Regions from separate parts of the Homo sapiens genome. Here region 2 is linked to region 1. The links are contacts of gene promoters, found by promoter capture Hi-C in human tissues and cell types (Jung and others, 2019). All regions are on one chromosome and are shown on one strand. The core of a region is centred on a gene start or on the middle of the fragment in contact, and the rest is flanking DNA. Distances in the headings are between cores, read along the strand shown. Region 1 holds the start of GPR119 (G protein-coupled receptor 119). Region 2 overlaps SLC25A14 (solute carrier family 25 member 14).

Evidence for each region. Contacts are between HindIII fragments. The study calls those that stand out against the background at their distance.
Region 2: a fragment that was not itself captured here is called in contact with the fragment with the promoter of GPR119 in region 1 in 1 of the 25 tissues and cell types used here (hippocampus).

What each region holds. Positions count from the first base shown.
Region 1 is chrX:130,384,079-130,387,560 of GRCh38, forward strand. GPR119 (G protein-coupled receptor 119) reads right to left here and starts at 1,596. Exons shown (of 2, transcript NM_178471.3): 1 at 358-1,596. The coding sequence starts at 1,369. The coding sequence ends at 362. The HindIII fragment of the contact is 3,374 bases long and covers 1-2,257 here.
Region 2 is chrX:130,350,169-130,353,650 of GRCh38, forward strand. SLC25A14 (solute carrier family 25 member 14) reads left to right here. Exons shown (of 11, transcript NM_001282195.2): 6 at 478-563. Among named protein-coding and RNA genes, the nearest start is that of SLC25A14, 12 kb to the left of the region's middle. The HindIII fragment of the contact is 3,303 bases long and covers 1-3,233 here.

The DNA.
Region 1 (3,482 bases), core at 346-2,845:
GTGGCTCACATTATATTTCTGTTGGACAGTGCTGCTCTGGTATACTCAAAAATAGAATTTGATCTATAAGCATCTTTTTAGCAGTACATTTCTTGCTTTAAGTAAGTGTACCTGTACACCAGAGACAGGCTCATTTCAAAAGAAGGACAGGGAGGAGTGGCGATTTGAAAATGGGGAAACTGATTATAGAAGAAAGTCAGGACTCTGCCTCAGTTACCTGTCAGTCTGGGGGTGGGGGATGCTGGGACAGGGGTCAATTGCCTGAAGCAAGTGCTCTCATCCCCCTAGCTCCTGCTGATCTAGTTGGGGCTCCAGAGTGGGGAGGAGAAAGGCACTTTGAAACTTCTCTGCCCTTACCGTCTTAGCCATCAAACTCTGAGCTGGAGATAGTGACGATGTGACAGGAACTTTCCCTGGGCCTCTCTGGGCCACAATTCCTGGCCGAGAGAAAGAGGAGGAATGAGGTGAGCACCTTCTTCACTCCTAGGGCCATGTGGTAGAGCTGCAGTCGCACCTCCTTCTGCCAATAGGCATAGATGAGTGGGTTGAGCAGGGAGTTGCCCACGCCGAGCAGCCACAGGTACCGTTCCAGCACTAGGTAGAGGTGACACTCCTGGCAGGCCACCTGCACAATGCCAGTGATAAGGAAGGGGGTCCAGGATAGAGCAAAGCTCCCAATGAGAACAGACACAGTACGGAGAGCTTTGAAGTCGCTGGGAGTCCGTGGGGATCGATAACCTCCAGCCATGGCTCCTGCATGTTCCATCTTTCGAATCTGCTGGCTGTGCATGGAGGCAATCTTGAGCATGTCGCAGTAGAAGAAGACAAAGAGGAGCATGGCTGGGAAGAAGCCAACGCAGGAGAGGGTCAGCACGAAGTGAGGGTGAAATACAGCAAAGAAGCTGCACTGCCCTTTGTAGGCAGTCTGCTGGAACATGGGGATTCCGAGTGGGAGGAAGCCAATGAGGTAAGACACTAACCACAGCCCGGCAATGCAGGCCCCGGCCACGAACCCACTCATGATCTTCAAGTAGCGGAAGGGCTGCTTGATGGCAAGGTACCTGTCAAAGGTGATCAGCATGACCGTGAGGACAGAGGCAGCTGCGGAGGAAGTGACAAATGCCATCCGCAGGCTGCACAGGGTCTTCTGTGTGGGCCGAGAAGGGCTGGAGAGCTGGTCTGTGAGTAGGCCAGAGATGGCCACACCAATCAAGGTGTCAGCCACAGCCAGATTCAAGGTGAAGCAGAGACTGACACCATCATTCTTGTGGATCAACAGCAGCACAGCCACAGCCACTAGTGTGTTAGTAGCAATGATGAGGGAGGCCAGGACAGCAAGGATCACTCCAAATGAGAAAGATGATTCCATGTCTCGAAGTGGCAGGACTTCACTTACCAGGGCATGCTATCTCTCCAGCTGAAATTCTCATGGGCCAGGGGCAGAGGAGCTGTGGGTTCAGAGCTACAGCACGATTCTGGCCTTCGCTGGCAGTCCAGGCTGGCAGGTCGCCATCTTTGGGATCCTACAGGTCATGAAGAATTACTCACCCTCTCTTTTCAGTCCTCAGCCTCCTGCCTCTCCAGCTCTCTAAAGGCAGCAACTTCAGTATAGACCTCCCCCTGGGCCCTGAGCTAGTCCCTCCCCCTCCAACCAGCAAGTTACTAGACAACTCCCAAGTACCTGTACATGCTGTCTCGCCAGGCCCTCTCCCTTCACTGGTGCTTCAGGGACTCTGGAGGGACAGGGACATTCATCAGGTCTCCTGTCTGTCAAAAGATATAATTGACTCCAATCATACTTTTTTCTTCCTCCATACCTTGACATTAAATTTCTACTTTTCTTCCAAAACCTCGAGTACCAGCTTAAATAATTAATCTCAGCTTAATTAAGCTTTTTCTTACTAATTCTCAATTACTATTATGAATTGCTTTTAATCAAGCAAGATGCTCATAATCAGTTGAAGTGGGAAGTGAGGGAAGGTGAGCTTTTTGAGGGGCCCCAGCATATTTTCAGGAGTGCTACCACACATTTAAGCTGTTTCTTACCTTTTGCTTCCTAGCGCCTCAAATTCTAATTCTCTCAAGTAGGGCGTGCTGTTCCCCCGTTTCTCATCCCTAGGATCTCAGTTGAGGATTCAGGACAGGAAAAACAGGGCCAAAAACTGTTAACAGCTGTCATTCAGTTTAGAACCCATTCTCCACCTCACGCTGCTGTCTCTCAAGTATACTAATTGATAATTATTTCTGCAGCATGTTGGGCCAGGTCTGGTCAGTGAGTAGTGGCTGCTGGGCTTGCCTTTCTTAATCCTATAGACCTGAGGTATCTCTGCGGGAGGAGAAGAGGAGATGAGCTGCATTCTGGGAAGTGTCTGCTTGATGTTTGGCTATGGAATTTTCCATTTTCCAGGAATAGGAACGTGGGGGCGGTTGAGGGGGGGAGGTTAGACCAAAGGGCAACTGTGTTGCTGAAGCAGGTGAGATGCACTCTGGAGGGGCAGCTGCATAAGTCACTCCTGTTTTAGGATGTGTATCCATTTGCTTGGGTACATTAGAACTACCCTTTCGCCTGCCACTCTCATCTTGGATACCAAGAAGAGAGGGGTGGGGAGAAGAGTGGTTAGAAGCTTATTTACTCAGTTCAGGTGAGAGCACAAATGGGAAAGGTTAGTGTTTGAAGTGAGGGAATAGAGAGCAAGGTGCAGAGTTGGACGCAAATATATTCCAGGATGTTTTGACAGTCTGAGAGGGCCTTTGGCAGATGTCTCTCCTAAAAAAGGATCAGAAAGACTGTGTTGTGGGGATTCAGTATTCTAGTTGCCATCCTGAAAACAGTTCTTATTCTTTGGTATGTCCATTAGGAGATTGATTCCAGTTGCTTAGAACCTAGCCTAATTTTATACCTGGACCTAAGGTGTGCTTGGGTTTCCCCAGCTCTTGACTCCACGGAGTCAAGTTAGCCCTTTTCAAACCCATGTTCAAACTTGAGAGTGTATCAGAATCACCTGGAGGGTGTCTTAAAACCCAGGTTCTTGGGTCCTACTCCCAGAGTTTCAGGTCATTGGTGAGTCTGAGAATCTGCATTTCTTTCTTTCTTTTCTTTTTTATTTTTATTTTTATTTTTTTTTTTTTTTGAGAAGGAGTTTCGCTCTTGTCGCCCAGGCTGGAGTGCAATGGTGTGATCTCAGCTCACTGCAACCTCCACCTCCCAGGTTCAAGCAATTCTCCTGCCTCAGCCTCCTGAGTAGCTGGGATTACAGGTGTGCAGCCACCACGCCCAGCTAATTTTGTATTTTTAGTAGGGACGGAGTTTCACCGTGTTGGCCAAGCCGGTCTCGAACTCCTGGCCTCAGGTGACCCACCTGTCTGGGCCTCCCAAAGTGTTGGGATTACAGGCGTGAGCCACCGTGCCTGGCCAGAATCTGCATTTCGAACAAGTTCCCAGATACTGCTGTTACTTGCTCAGGGACCACACTTTGAGAAGC
Region 2 (3,482 bases), core at 332-2,831, 34 kb before region 1:
AACAGAGGCTAGGAGAGATCTCAGGCCTATCAAAATTAATATTCAAATAAGTTTTTTGTATTAGACGTAAGATTTTCTCTTTTAACATTCAGTTCCTGAATCTTTAGAGTTGATGATTACCCAGAAAAAGACTTAAAAAGTATGTTCTTTAGATGTTTGAAAAGGTCGAAGGGGAAATACCACCTTCTGAATTTGTGTGTGGGATACTGATAGTTATGTAGAAGAAAAGGACGTGTTCCAGTGTCCTTTAGAAATAATGATGTTTTTAGAAATGATTTATATTTTACAAGTTTTAATATATTTTAGCACTGAATTGAGATCTAGAAATATTTGAGTTTCTTTATTTTCCTAAGCTTTTTGGTTCATTTCTAAAGTCATCTCTCTAACCAAGTTTCCCTTCCTCCAGTAGGTCAGTAGTATGTACTCAAACTGGTGCCTAATACAAGCAGACCTTTCTTTTTCTTTTCCTTTTCACAGATGAAACTCTTTTAATTAATATGATCTGTGGGGTAGTGTCAGGAGTGATATCTTCCACTATAGCCAATCCCACCGATGTTCTAAAGGTAAGAGAGATACAGTGTGATTTGAAAGGAGCATAACTTTGAGTCAGATTTGGGTTCAGATTCCCACTCTGTCACTTGCCAGCTGTAGAACCTTGGGCAAATCAGTTAACTGCATTAAGCCTCAATTTCATCATTTGAAAAATGAATATAATACAGTGTTTATAACATAGAGTTGTAAAGGATTAGCGATAATATATATATAAACTGCCTATCATTGTACTTGGTGTAGTAGATGCTCAATAAATGGCAGTCAGTTTATTATGATATGTGTTAATCCACTGGTCCTCACACTGGGGTATGCAAGACCCTATAGGTTCTTTCCAAGGGCTATGCAGTTTTATAGGAATCAATTTCCAGATCTCTTACATCCATTTGTACTCCATCCTAAAACTGGTACGAGAATGAATCTGTTCATAATAGCCCTTACTCAATTTTACAAAAGAAATGTACGTCCCCACCTATTCTAAATCTTGGTATGGTATGTTGACCTGTGGTATAACCTGGGATGCCAAACAGAGGGGTAAACTGAAATACAGTTCTTGGAGAAGCCTATTTTAGTAACCAATTTGGGTATCTTAAGTCTGTAATGCCTCTGTCTTTCCCTGTCTTATTAATATTTCTATTCAGGGTGAGATTTGGCTTTAAACATGGTATATTTTGGCCTGTATTGGAATATTCTGAATTCAGAACCAGAATAGTATAGGTTGGTGGTGCTGACTTGTTAAGAGTATAGTTGGATTTCTTTAAGGTTTTTTCAAGTCACAGACTGAAACATTTCTTTTAATATAAATTTTCATCTTATTTCATAAAATGGTAAATATTTTCTACTTATTAACGTATTTAAGCTTATGATTAGTTAAAAGCACTAAATATAGGATTAAAATAAGTGAGGGGAACCCAAAGTTTTAACAAATTATTTTAAGGGGATTGCGAGAAAAAAGTAAGAGGACACATGCTTTTTTAAATTTGACCACTAGTGAAACCACAAGTGGCTAGGTTAGCAAAGGAGAGATCTATTTATTGCAATTCAGAGAGGGGTTTGAGAACAGAGAGAAAGACATGAAAAACAACACACATGAAATAAACCACTGGTGGTTGATGGATAAAAATATGAGACAGTCTTTCTGGACTAAAATGATAGTAATTTACAGAATTTTTATATCATTTTAGGTTTACAGAACAAGTTTTTTTTTCACCGTTTATTTTAGATTCAGGGAGTACATGTGCAGGTTTATTACATGGGTATATTGTATGATGCTCAGGTTTGGGATATGAATGATCCCATCACCCAGATAGTGAGCACAGTACCCAACAGTTTTTCAACCCTTGTCCCCCTCCTTCTCTCCTGCCTCTATTATTCCCTGGTGTCTATTGTTGCCATCTTTGTCCATGAGTATGCAATATTTAGCTCCCACTTATAAGTGAGAACATGCTATCTTTGGTTTTCTGTTCCTGCATTAATTCATTTAGGATAATGGCCTCTGGCTCAATCCATGTTACTGCAAAGGACATGATTTTGTTCTTTTTTATGACTGCATAGTATTCCATGGTGTATATGTACCACATTTTCTTTATCCAGTCCAACGGTGGTGGGCACCTAGGTTGATTCCATGTCTTTGCTATTGTGAATAGTGCTGTGATGAACATAGGAGTGTATGTGTCTTTTTGGTAGAATTATTTATTTTCTTTTGGATATATACTCAGTAATGGGATTGCTGGGTTGAATGGTAGCTCTCTGTTTTAAGTTCCTTGAGAAGTCTCCAAACTGCTTTCCAAAGTGGCTGAACTAATTTACATTCCCACCAATGGTGTCTAAGCATTCCCTTTTCTCTGCAGCCTCGCCAGCATCTGTTGTTTTTACTTTTTAATAATAACCATTCTGACTGGTGTGAGATGGTATCTTGTTGTGGTTTGATTTACATTTCTCTGATGATTAGTGATATTGTGCATCTTTTTATGTTTGTTGGCTGCTTGTATGTCTTCTTTTGAGAAGTGTCCGTTCATGTCTTTTGCCTACTTTTTAATGGAGTTATTTGGTTTTTGCTTGTTGAATTAAATTCCTTATAGATGCTGGATACCAGATTTTCATCAGATGCATAGTTTGTGAATATTTTCTCCCATTCTATAGGTTGTTTCTTTACTCTGTTGGTAGTTTCTTTTGTTGGAAGAAGATTTTTAGTTTAATCAGGTCCCGCTTGTCAATTTTTTGTTTTGTTGCAATTGCTTTTGATGACTTAGTCATAAATTATTTCCCAAGGCCAATGCCCAGAATGGCGTTTCCTAGGTTTTCTTTTAGGATTCTTAAAATTTGAGGTCTTACATTTAAATCTTTAATCTGTCTTGAGTTAATTTTTGTATATGGTGAAAGGTAGGGGCCCAGTTTTATTCTTCTGCATATAGCTAGTCAGCTGTCCCAGTACCATTTATTGAATAGGGAGTCCTTTCCCCATGCTTATTTTTGTTGACTTAGAACAGGTATTTATGAAGAGAATTTAATTGAAGAGCTCCTTGTACCTCTTACTCTAAGCAGACAACCCCACCTCCTATGGCCTGGCCTTATACCTCTCAATTTCGTGTCCTTTCTACCTTACAGGTGTAAACTTACTTCCATCTATACCCATCCTTATCTTGTCTTACTGTAGTGGTTTTCCAGACCAGACCAGTATTACCTGGGAACTTGTTAGAAATGCAAATTATCAGGCCCCATCCAACACCTACTGAACCAGAAAGGGTAGGATGGGGCCCAGCAGTCTGGTTTGACAAGCCCTTCAAGTGATTTTGATACATGCTCAAGTTTAAAAAAAACCTGGTTACTCTACTTTTATTCACTTCTGTTTCATCAGAGACCTTTATCATTTGTCCTCTTTCTCTTATTTTCAGTGTCTTCCTCTTTACCGGTTATCTTCTCTCAAATGATAA